2 separate regions of the Homo sapiens genome follow, and region 1 is linked to region 2. Evidence: promoter capture Hi-C in 16 types of primary human blood cells and fetal thymus (Javierre and others, 2016). All regions are on one chromosome and are shown on one strand. Each heading gives the region's core, a stretch centred on a gene start or on the middle of the fragment in contact. The rest is flanking DNA. Distances are from core to core; before and after follow the strand shown.

What was found. Contacts are between HindIII fragments. The CHiCAGO score rates a contact against its expected background, and 5 or more counts as called.
Region 1: a contact is called between the fragment with the promoter of RPTOR here and the fragment with the promoter of CEP131 in region 2, in 1 of 17 cell types (erythroblasts). The highest score is 5.4, in erythroblasts.

Annotation. Positions count from the first base shown.
Region 1 is chr17:80,543,529-80,549,485 of GRCh38, forward strand. It overlaps RPTOR (regulatory associated protein of MTOR complex 1), which reads left to right and starts at 1,310. Exons shown (of 34, transcript NM_020761.3): 1 at 1,310-2,263. The coding sequence starts at 2,102. RefSeq lists enhancers at 1,004-1,830, 1,164-1,523, 1,804-1,903, 1,831-2,657. The HindIII fragment of the contact is 2,750 bases long and covers 997-3,746 here.
Region 2 is chr17:81,218,799-81,224,884 of GRCh38, forward strand. It overlaps CEP131 (centrosomal protein 131), which reads right to left and starts at 4,167. Exons shown (of 26, transcript NM_014984.4): 1 at 3,971-4,167; 2 at 1,082-1,275. The coding sequence starts at 1,258. RefSeq lists enhancers at 2,528-3,198, 3,199-3,868, 3,869-4,538 and silencers at 3,900-4,229, 4,390-4,759. The HindIII fragment of the contact is 19,797 bases long and covers 1-6,086 here.

The DNA of each region.
Region 1 (5,957 bases), core at 60-2,559, 680 kb before region 2:
TCTCACTCTGTCACCCAGGCTGGAATGCAGTGGTGTAATCTCGGCTCACTGCAACCTCTGCCTCCCAGGTTCCAGCTCTTCTCCTGCCTCAGCCTCCCGAGCAGCTGAGACTACAGACGCACGCCACCACGCCCAGCTAATTTTTGTATTTTTATTAGAGACGGCGTTTCACCATGTTGGCCAGGCTGGTCTCGAACTCCTGAACTCGTGATCCACCCTCCTCGGCTTCCCAAAGGGCTAGGATTATAGGCGTGAGCCACGGTGCCCTGCCTACATTTGGTTTTATAGTCCACCTTACACAGTTCTCTATACATTGTAAATGAGCCAAATTTCCTGAATTGAAAAAGAGAGTCACACAAGAGGCTTGCCTCCACGCACAGACATGTAGTTTTAGATGTCTGCACGTGAAGCTATATCAAAATAAGAATAAACTACTGCTACCAAGAAGTGGGAAAAAAATTTAAAAAGGATAAACTGCTCAGAAAACGAAACAGATTAAACAAAAAATTGTATTAGATGAAATTTTTTTTCATCGAATCTTGCTCCAGACTCTTCTTCTGTTGCTTCAGACCCTTCTTCATCTGAAGAGTCTTGCTCTGTCTCCCAGGCTGGAGTGCAGTGGCACGATCTTGGCCCACTGCAACCTCCGCCTCCCGGGTTCAAGCAATTCTCCTGCCTCAGCCTCCTGAGTAGCTGGGATTACAGGCGCGCACCACCACGCCCAGCTAATTTGTGTATTTTTAGTAGGGACGGGGTTTCACCATGTTGGCCAGGCTGGTCTCGATCTCTTGACCTCGTGATCTGCCCGCTTCGGCCTCCCAAAGTGCTGGGATTACAGGCGTGAGCCACGGCGCCCGGCCTTTCACTTGGTTCTCTATGAAAAAATTAAAGAGAAAATCTGATTGACACTGTGGAGGACACTACACTCCAAAAAAAAAAGTACTATATTTTCTAATATTATCAGTGCTTTTTAATATTTTCTAATATTATCAGTGAAGCTTTTGCCGCTTTTTCAAAATCTGGAAGAAACAAGGCGGTTGATTCCTTTAATTTCAGGAGCATGTAACTTCATTTATAATGACAATGTTTTTGAAAAAATAAATTAAACCGACAGTTTCATTTGTAGGATTGACTTTAATAACACGCCTCTACTGAACAAATGGCGATTAACTGGGGAAAACGGAATTATGGTAACCGAGGTAACGGGGTCGGGGACTCTTTCTCCTTCGCTGCATGCTGGGTGGCGGGGAGAGACCGCTCTGAGGAGGTTTGGTCTGTCGGCCACGCCGTAGGCCGCGGTGCATTCTGGGTCCTGGCAATATGGCGTCCTCCTTGATGGGCTGATGAGATGAGTTTCACTGTAGCTCCAAACCAGAGGGCAAAGCTCCCATGACCCAATAAGCCCACATTGTCCCTTTCCTCCGTGGTTCCGTGTCGCCCGTTTCTCAGGACTCGTTCTCAGGCAGGAGAGAGCCTCGGGGCTGAAGGCCAGGACCAGCCAGGCCGCGCGGACCTGAGGTTGAGGAACCGGGTGCAGGCGAGCACGATGGGCCGGTCGTGGCTCTGGTTGCAGCAGCTCAGACGAGTGCGGGACCCGCAGGGCTGAGAGTGGCTGGAGGAGACCCAGGGCCCTTTGAACCCGATCCCTTGGCCGGAGACCTCAGCCCAGTCGGCCCAGTGGGCGAACCGGCACCAAGAGCGGCCTGCCTGTCTTCGGAACTGCTGAGGCGGTGGAGGCCGAGAGCAGGGTCATCGTGAGGCCTGAAGTCTCTTACGCTTTTGGCAGCTCCCCTCGCAGCCCCTCTGGAAACGTACAGCCTCAGGAGCAGCCAGTGGCTTGGGACCTGGGGTGGTGTGTGTCTGCGGAGCTTCTTGGGCTGCCCCATTTCCTAGCGGCCCCCACCTCCCCACTTCCCGCTCAGAGTTAGAGATAAGGATCTCAGACTTTTGCCTGAGTAAGGGTCTCCGCACTCTTTATCCATTTGGTTTTCGATTTCCCGTTTTTGTTTCTTATTTCACCAATTCTGGTACACGCTAGTTTTTAAGGCTGGAGGTTCTCGAGCGCTTGCTGCCAAGGACTCCCCCACCCCCTCCCCCACTGATGGAGTCCGAAATGCTGCAATCGCCTCTTCTGGGCCTGGGGGAGGAAGATGAGGCTGATCTTACAGACTGGAACCTACCTTTGGCTTTTATGAAAAAGAGGCACTGTGAGAAAATTGAAGGCTCCAAATCCTTAGCTCAGAGCTGGAGGATGAAGGATCGGGTAAGTGGATTCTGAAGGCACCCCTTGAACTTGGTAGTTTCCCCAACAAAGAAAGTTTACAGCCCGAAAAGTGTCCTTGGGAAAGCGCCGACATTTCCCCCTAGCCACACGTTGTAAGTCAACTAGAAAGCAAAAGCCATTTCAGACTGCAGTTTTTGGTTGAAAATGGAAAATGCTGTTTTGGTTAGTCATTATTCACTGGGTAGTGTTAATTCAATTCCAACTAAGTTCTAATTCAGATAATAAAAGTTAAGCAAATTTGAAAATAGAGCATTGCGAGTATTTACATGCTCTTTGGCATACTACTTAGTTCTGTAAACACTTAGAGGAAGGACAACGTGCGATATAATCTTTATACCCACATGATTAGTCTACTTTTTAAAATATCCAAGCTGGGTGAAGTGCAGAAGTCTGATATACTATGCTAGGAAATGAGATTACTGGAAAATGTTCAACTAGTAACAAATTAGTGCAAAGTTATTATAAAGTTACACTGAACTTCATTCTAGTCTTCTAAACAATTTCTCTTGAAGCTAGATTTTCCTCCTTTTATGTAGTGTCCTGTTGCTGTAACTTGGAAACAGGATTTCTTTAATCGTGAGTTAGGGTATGAGGCGTCGAGACTTGGGTGCAGGTTTTAGGGTGTCCGCATGGTGTTTGGAGTGTGGAGAGTGACTCACAAGCAGCTGGTAGGAAAGAAAACAGCCGAATTTTGTTGGATTTGTCCTTCATAAAACACCCATCTATTTCCTGGCCTCAAAAGCAAAAGGGTAGTACTGCTTCTCCTCTATGCACACTTATAATTTGTCTTTTTGTAAGTTATTTTCTCCCTCCAGGCTGCTTTTATTTGCACATTTCAGTGGTATAAAAGAGGAAGTTGGTGTTACAATGTTTGATTTTCTCTAGGCTTATGTATATGTTTATGGAATATTATTGTTTTTTAGTATATGATGTTGAACATATATAAGATTACACTTCTGGGCTGGGCGCGGTGGCTCACGCCTGTAATCTCAGCACTTTGGGAGGCCAAGGCAGGCCTCCCAAAGGCAGGCGGATCACCTGAGGTCAGGAGTTTGAGACCAGCCCGGCCAACATGGTGAAACCCTGTCTGTACTAAAAATACAAAAATTAGCTGGGCTTGGTGGCAGGTGCCCGTAATCCCAGCTACTCGAGAAGCTGAGGCTGGAGAATCGCTTGAACCTGGGAGGCAGAGGTTGCAGTGAGCCGAAATCGCACCATTGCACTCCAGCCTAGGGGACAGAGTGAGACTGTGTCTCAAAAATAAATAAATAAATAAAACTTCTGGTAACTCTAGTCAGTCAGTCAGTAGTAACCAGTTAGCTACTGACTTGGCTTACTTCTAAAAGGTTAGGAAAATTTGTTTCATCCAAAAGCATTTTAAGGAGTTAAATAAGTTAGTCATTGGGGGAGGTTGTATAAATTCTATCTTATGGACATCTTTAGTAGTAACTATATAGTTAAAAGCTTTTGTGGTTGCTATACATATATGAAAAGACTTTTTAAAAAATTCTTTGTGGAGGGCAGTTTTTTTGTTGTTGTTATTTTGAAATGTGGTTCTCTCTGCTGTCCTAAACCTATGTTCCAACAGTTTGAAACTGATTAATGGGTATACGTTTGACCTTTTAATTAAAACATTAATTTGTGAATGATCAACATTCCCTAATAAGCTTTTCACAGGTTGTTAAGAGAAACAAAAGTTCTGTGACTCTTAGTGACTACTGAGATTGCTGCTTAGAAAGGAGCTGGGGAGAAAGTTTGCTGTATCTGTTTTTCGGTGGAGAAAATCAGCAGCTAACATCTTCAGTTGAGTGTGTGGGAGTTTGGAATCTTGTCATCTCTTCCCTCTTCCAAAGGTCAGGTCCTTTGGAATCTTGTCATCTCTTCCCTCAAGGACCGTATCACACATGCTATAGGACAGAAGTTGCAAACTCAAATGATATTGAGTGGGGATGGTAGCATAAGAGAATGAAACAGGCCACATTTAAGAAGAATAATGGCATAGGTTCAAAGATAAAGACAAATGGCAGCTGACATTTGGCACAGTGTGTGTGACAGTTTCTGGAGGGTGGGAACAGGGGCTCCCTGATGCCATAACTGAAGGGGCAACTGGGCTATGGCCAGGCCTCTCTCTTTGTCTTTGAGAAGTCAGCAAACTTTTTTTTTCTTTTATTGTAAATATTCATACTAATTCAGATTTATTACCAAACACACTGTAGTCCAACACTGCAGGCTGAACAACCCCATTTGTGGAGTGTTTTTCTGTTTCTTTTTTTTTTTTTTTTTTTTTGAGACAGGGTCTTGCTCTGTCATCCAGGCTGGAGTACAGTGGTGAGATCACACGGCTCACTGCAGCCTCGACCTCCTGGGCCTGAGTGATCCTCTCACCTCAGCCTCCCCAGTAGCTGAGACTATAAGTGTGCGCCAGTGTGTCTGGGGTTGGGGAGTCTCACTGTGTTGCCCAGGCTGGTCTTGAACTCCTGGGATCAAGCAATCCTCCTGCCTTGTCCTCCAAAAATGCTAGGATTACAGGCATCAGCCAACACGCTCAGCCTGGGGTGGTTTTTTTTTTTTTTTTTTTTTTTTTTTGAGATGGAGTTTCATTCTTGTTGCCCAGGCTGGAGTGCAGTGGTGTGGTCTTGACTCACTGCAACCTCCGCCTCCCAGGATCAAGCTATTCTCCTGCCTCAGCCTCCCAAGTAGCTGGGATTACAGGCGCCTGGCTAGTTTTTTTTGTATTTTTAGTGGAGATGGGGTTTCACCATGTTGGCCAGGCTGGTCCTGAACTCCTGACCTCGGGTCGTTCACCTGCCTCAGCCTCCCAAAGTGCTGGGATTACAGGTGTGAGCCACAGCACCTGGCCCTGGGGTGTTTTTTGACCAGTGGGTTACCTACGTAAGAATCTCTGTTACCCAGGCCTCCAGGCCACACAGTCCCACTGTGCTGGACGTAGCCTCCAGTCTGGTGGAGCAGCATGTTTGTAAAGTGAAATGTGTGGGCGTGGTTGTTCTGTGCTAGGAGCTACATCAACTACTTCCTGGTGGCCACTGACTGTCCTAAATGCAAGCTGAGATTTTGCTTCTTCTTGTGGTTAATGTGCAATTCCATACGCTTTTATTTTGTACATATATTCATTAGTTCTTACTGGCTCCTATTTAGTAGCCTTGCTACAGATTCCTCAAATTGACATCTTTACCAAAGTTGACTGACTGATGACTCCCAAGAAGTTTTTTTTGCCACCCAACACTTGGCATCCTTCCAGAGCTACAGCCCTTGCCCGCTCTCAGTTGGGATTCCTGCCATCTTTGTTTTGAATCAGTCTTGGTTTTCAAATGCCACTTTTACCACATTTTAATTTCTAAGTTACTGTTACTTTAAAATTATTATCAAGTTAGTTTGTTGTTTGGTTAATTCTACTATGTATAGTGAATGAGGCATATATGTATCCATAGTGTTTTTAGCTTGCAATTTTCAAATAACTAGACATATATGAATTGTAGTTCAAAATGAATCATTCACAGACCTTTGGCTAAAACAGATACGTATATATCTCCCCTATTTGTGTTTTTGGCTCACTGCAACCTCCGCCTCTTGGGTTCAAGCGATTCTCCTGCCGCAGCCTCCCGAGTAGCTGGGATTACAGGTGCCCACCACCATGCCTGGCCAATTTTTTTCA
Region 2 (6,086 bases), core at 2,917-5,416:
GGGGAGGTCCAAGCCTTTTATTCACAGTGGAACCCTGGCCTGGGCCTGCCAGGGGTTCCTGTGGGAAGCCTCAACTGCCCTCCAGACCCCTTCTCTCTGCCCTGCTATGTTGCCTGGCACGGACCTCAGGCAGGGAGCCCCAGACCGGCTGCCGCATGGAAGCCAAGGCCCCCAGGCCCTTGCTATTCGGAAGCTCAGGCCAGACTCTGGTCAGGCTCTGCCCCAACCCCCACAGAGCGGCTCGATTCCTCCCTTGCCCCAAAGACTGGGCCTGGCAGACACCAACTCAGGGTGCAGCAGGCCCGGCCTGCCTTTCACAGCCCCCATCTGGGAACCACCCACCCTCCTCCCTACTCCCAGAGGTGGGCAGGAAAGGCAGCTCTCACCCCGAAGCTCCCACGGCTGTCCTGCTGCCCACACACCCACACACCCGTCTAGGTTTCTCCAAGGCCACCAGGAGCTCATCACCCCTCCCCACAGGTCAACCCCATTTCTTTCTTTTTTTTTTTTTTTTGAGATGGCATCTCACTCTGTCGCCAGGCTGGAGTGCAACGGCACGATCTCGGCTCACCGCAACCTCTGCCTCCTGGGTTCGAGCAAATCTCCTGCCTCAGCCTCCCGAGTAGCTAGGATTACAGGCATGCACCACCATGCCCGGCTAATTTTTTTTTGTATCTTTAGTAGAGACGGAGTTTCACCATGTTGGTCAGGCTGGTCTTGAACTGCTGACCTCAGATGACCCGCCTGCCTCGGCCTCCCAAAGTGCTGAGATTACAGGCGTGAGCCACCGAGCCCAGCCAACCCCATTTCCTGAGGATTCAAACAAATCCAAAGGGCGGTGGCACAGGAGGCCTGGGGCTGTTGCTGAAAGAATCCAAGCTCTGGCTTGACTTTCTAGTGATTCAGCACCCACGCCTGTAAGACTCAAGTCCTACCTGCCTCCTGGAACAGCCACGAGGATCCAGCATGTCCAGATGTGAGGCACTTGTTCACCTGTGGAGCTGGACCCAGGGGTCAGATGCCAACTGAACAACAGCCCTCCAGGAGGCAGGGGCCCGGACTCCTAGGCCACAGTACTCACCAGCACCTTCCTCTTCTGCTCGCTGCCTGTGACCACGGAGACAGAGCGGACGATGGGCTTGGTGGTGGCGGCACTGCCAGGACGCCGGGACACAGGCGGAGGGAGACCTGTCAGACTCAGGTCCACACCTGCTGGGCTGCGCTCCGGGACGCTGCCGATGGCCCGGGTGCCTTTCATGGTGGACAAGGCAGGTCCTGAGCGGGGAAGCAAGAGCTGCAATGAGATGCCGTGGGGGAACTACAGTCCCCTGCACCCACCATCTCCAGCCCAGCCTCAGCTGGGTCCACTGGCCACCAAACTTCCTGGGAAGGCCTGTCACAACCTATGCACCCCTCTGGCTGGTGGCAGGCTCCTCGACAGGAACATGAGGGAGCTGTTCTGAGCCCAATGTCAGTGTATGCCAGGGCAGGAGGGCCCTGGATGATGGACAGGTGGGTGGCGAGGGCAAGGCCCGTGGGTGGGAATAAGCCAGCAGCACCCCAGAGGGAGCCTGGGCCACAGGCCATTGTCGATGTGAGCCAGGTTCTGCCATCTACCCCACACCGTGATTCTGAGAAAGTCACTGCCCCGAGCCCCACTGTTTTCTTCTGTAAAAGGGACATTTGATTTATTTTTTATTTTATTATGTTTTTGAAACAGAGTCTCGTTCTTGTCACCCAGGCTGGAGTGCAGTGGCGCGATCTCGGCTCATTGCCACCTCTGCCTCCCGGGTTCAAGCGATTCTCCTGCCTCAGCCTCCTGAGTAGCTGGGATTACAGGTGCCCGCCACCACGCCTGGCTAATTTTTGTATTTTTAGTAGAAGTAGAAACGGGGTTTTGCCATGTTGGCCAGGCTGGTCTCGAACTCCTGACCTCAGGTGATTCGCCTGCCTCGGCCTCCCAAAGTGCTGGGATTACAGGCATGAGCCACCGTACCCGGCCCCTAAGTAAAAATACACATTTTAAAAAGGGGTTGCGTGTTGGCCGGGCACAGTGGCTCACTCCTGTAATCCCAGCACTTTGGGAGACCAAGGCAGGCAGATTGCCTGAGCTCAGGAGTTCAAGACCAGCCTAAGCAACACAGTGAAACCCCACCTCTACTAAAAACTTCAAAAAATTAGCCGGGCGTGGTGGCGAGCGCCTGTAATCCCAACTACTTGGGAGGCTGAAGCAGGGGAATTACTTGAACCTGGTAGGCGGAGTTTACAGTGAGCCAAGATCGTGACACTGCACTCCAGCCTGGGCAACATAGCGAGACTCCATCTCAAAAAAAAAAAAAAAAAAAAAACGCGGGAGTGGTTTTGTGAGGTCCAGACAAGATGCTGGTCTCAAGGCCTCAAGGCTGCACCGGGCAAACACTCCCTGGGTAATGTGTTATTCCAGCAGGGGACGGGGGTTCTGACGATCGATCGAGGGGATTAGCTTGGGGATGCTGGCTTCCTTACTTTGGAACTTCTCAGAGCAAACCCTGCCGGCCCCCAGCCCGTCCCCACATGGCACCTCTTTCTGAACGAGTCTTTCTGATCTTTCTGAACGGGTCTCAGCTCGTGCATGTGCCCCTGCCAAAAACCCTGCAACAGCTTCCTAGGCACAGAGAATAAAGTCTACACATCCAACTCCTGCAAGATCTGGCCCTGTACTCTCTGTGACCTCGCCAGCTCCCCTGCTGTGCCCCTTTGTTGTGGCTTTAGCCAACACAGCCTCCCTGGTTCTCCTCAAACTCAGCCAGCTTGGCCCCGGCCAGTCCCCTGCCTCTAGGTCTCAGGACACTCCCTCCCTGCACTCAGAGGCCTTCCTTGAGCACCCATCACTCTTCACTCCCCATCCGGCTCGGACTCCCTTCCTGTGGCCGCACACAGTTGGTTTATGAATTGTGTGGCTCCTGAGCAACCCCAGCACCTGCAGGGAAAGGCACTCAGCTGAACCCGTAGATGAACGGGAGAAGCTGGCGCCAGGGACCAACCTCGAGAATTACCTCCCTGCCACGGTGGCCTCCAGTAGGCCAGCAGGCACCCAGCCTATCGCCCAAGGTCACCCTGGGCTTCCTTCAGCCCGGCACCCCACAGCAGGTCCCCCAAGGTCCCTTCCACGGAGCGATGGATACCCCTACTCCCTAGAGGCTGACCCTGCCACTGACCAGGTCCCAGTCCTCAGTTATGCACTTCCGGCTGTGCGGAAGAAACTTAACACCCTCCTCCTGCAGGGCACTGTCCACCCCTGGCTGGACCCATGCAAGCCCTTGGAGCCCAGGACTCTGCTCTCCCAGCCACACTTGCAAGCGGCTCTGGGATGGCGAACGGGGCCTCTCCATGGAAACCTCCAAGCCAGAAGAAGGGAGGCCTGGGAGGCCACTACATCTTGGATAAAACTGTGTCCCTCCCAGGACCTGAAGGGGCGGGGACTGATGACCAGCGCCAGGACCTGGTTCCCAGGGTGGGCTGACCCTGACCCTGACCCTGACCCTGGACAGAGAGGCCAGAGCCCACGCGCAGAGCAGAGCCCTCCACTTGTCCTCAGGGCAGCTCCCATCTCCCCATTTTCCCCAGGGCTTAAGGCAGCCGGGCCAGAGATGCCGGGACTGGACTCCATGTTGTCCTGGGGACCGGAGGGGAGTGGAGGGAGGTGGAGAGGGTGGAGGGGATGGAGGTGGGGACCCACACCCTCAGGCACGAGCCTGTCTTCACCTGCGCGGGCCCCGGACCTCCCTCACCTGTGCGCACCCTGGATCCCCCTCACTTCCCCCGGATCCCGCCTTCAATTGCGCGGGCACCAGATCCCCCCACTCACCTGTGCGTGCCCCGGATCCCCATCACTTCATCACTGGACCAGGGCCTCCCACCTGCGCGGGCTCCGGACCCCTCCAACCTCCGTGCGCCCTGCAACCCCCTCCCTTGCCCGGGCCCCCCTCACCTGCGCGGGCCGGGGGCGCAGCCGCGAAGCCTGCCTGGCGCGCGGGGCCTGCAGATTCGGCCGGCGGGGAGGGGATGCGGAACCAGTCGCGCCCAAACCTCGGGTCGGCGACCTGGCGCCCCGCCACCCCCAACACTGCCCCGAGGCCCGGTGACAATGAAGCGGCCGGACGGCCGGGGTGAGCAGCGGCGGCAGCTAGCAACCAGCCTGGCACCACCTCCCCAGCCCGTCACGCCGGCCCGCCTTTCCTGCGCGCGCCGACTCCGGATTGGCCCTTCACGCTCCCGCTCAGGCCGTCCCGGGAGCTCATTGGGCCGCTCGGCTGTCCTTCGGGAAGTTCAAGCGTGGGAGGAGCGGCGGATGGCTGAGGGACGCGACTACAGAGAGCGGCCGATTGGACGCGGCTGGAAAGGGGCGGGTCATATAGGGGGCGGGGGACCGAGGGCGGCGGGAGGAGCTGGCCGGGCAGGGGCGGGGCCCCAGCGGTTGTGGGCGGGGCGTGAGGTGGGGGTGTGATGGGCGAGTAGGGCGAGGCAGATGTGGGCGGGGCAAGGCAGGTGTGGGCGGGGCACGCAGGGCCTGGGGAGGAGACACCAGGGAGGGCGCGAGGAGCACGCGGCCTCGGCTCGGCTCCCCGACACCCCCAGGCCGCCGCACTCCCGCGGCCCGGGGCTCCCCCAGTGTCCTAGGCCGCTCTGTCCCCACCCACGTGCGCGACTCCCCTCGTTACTCAGTACGACTGCGAGGGCGTGTGGGCGCCTTGCTAACCTCCCTGACCTCCTTCCCTTCGCGCTGCTTTGTTGTTTTTTTTCCTTCTCCAAAGTTTTAACGCTGCGCCCCGTGCGTAGCCGCTCTGTGACTCCCCCTCTCTCCGGGAGCCCTGGGGATTCCGCCCAGGTCCTCTCCAGGGAAGCCATCCTTCCCCTAAAAGTCACAGCACACTGGTCTCCCCTGCCCCCGCTTTTTAAAAAGTCCAGTGCTCTGTAAAATAAAAAGTTTGGTTTCAGTAAAATCCACATTTTTTGGTGTGCAGTGGAGTTGTGTAACTTTAGTTACAGAACATTCTCCCTCCGGATCCCGTACCTGCTGACTGCTGGTGGCGGCTGCTCAGTTCTCTCTGTTCTCCATCCCTAGAGGCAGCCTTTTCCAGAATGTCACACAAAAGGGATGTCGCGCAGCGCGCCTGTGGGTCTGGCTTCTACCACTTCGCATTTTGAGATTCATGCTGGTTCCTCTTTATTGCTGAGTGGTATCCTGTAACCGGTGTGAACCACCGGTTCAGATGGTTTTATTTATTGATGGTTTTATTCATCAAATGAAGGACGCAGAGATTGTTCCTGGTGCTTGGCAATTATGAATGACGCTGCCATAAACATTCACTCATCGGCTTCTGTGTGGACACAACTTTTCATTTCTCTTGTGTAAATACCCAGGAGTGGGGTTGCTGGATCAAATGATTGTTTATAAGAAACTGCCGGCCGGGCGCAGTGGGTCCCACCTGTAATTCCAGAACTTTGGGACACTGAGGTGGGCGGATCACCTGAGGTCAGGAGTTCGAGATCACCCTGGCCAACATGGCAAAACCCCGTCTCTAGTAAAAATACAAAAAAATTACCCGTGCCTGGTGGCGTCTGCCTATAATCCCAGCTACTCAGGAGGCTGAGTCAGGAGAATCGCTTGACCCCAGGAGGCAGAGATTGCGGTGAGCGGAGATCACCACTGCACTCCAGCCTGAGCGACAGAGCAAGACTCCATCTCAAAAAAAAGAAAAAGAAAAAAAAAAGGAAACCGCCAAGCTATTTTCTTTTTCTTTTTTTTCCTTTTTTTTCCGAGATGGAGTCTCCCTCTGTCGCCCAGGCTGGAGTGCAATGGCATGATCTTGGCTCACTGCAAACTCCACTTCCTGGGCTCAAGCAATTCTCCTGCCTCAGCCTCCCGAGTAGCTGGTATTACAGGCACATGTCACCATGCCAGGCTAATTTTTGTATTTTTAGTAGAGACAGGGTTTTGTCATATTGGCCAGGCTGGTCTTGAACTGCTGACTTCAGGTGATCCACCCACCTCGGTCTCCCAAAGTGCTGGGATTACAGGCGTGGGCCACCACATCGGCCTACTA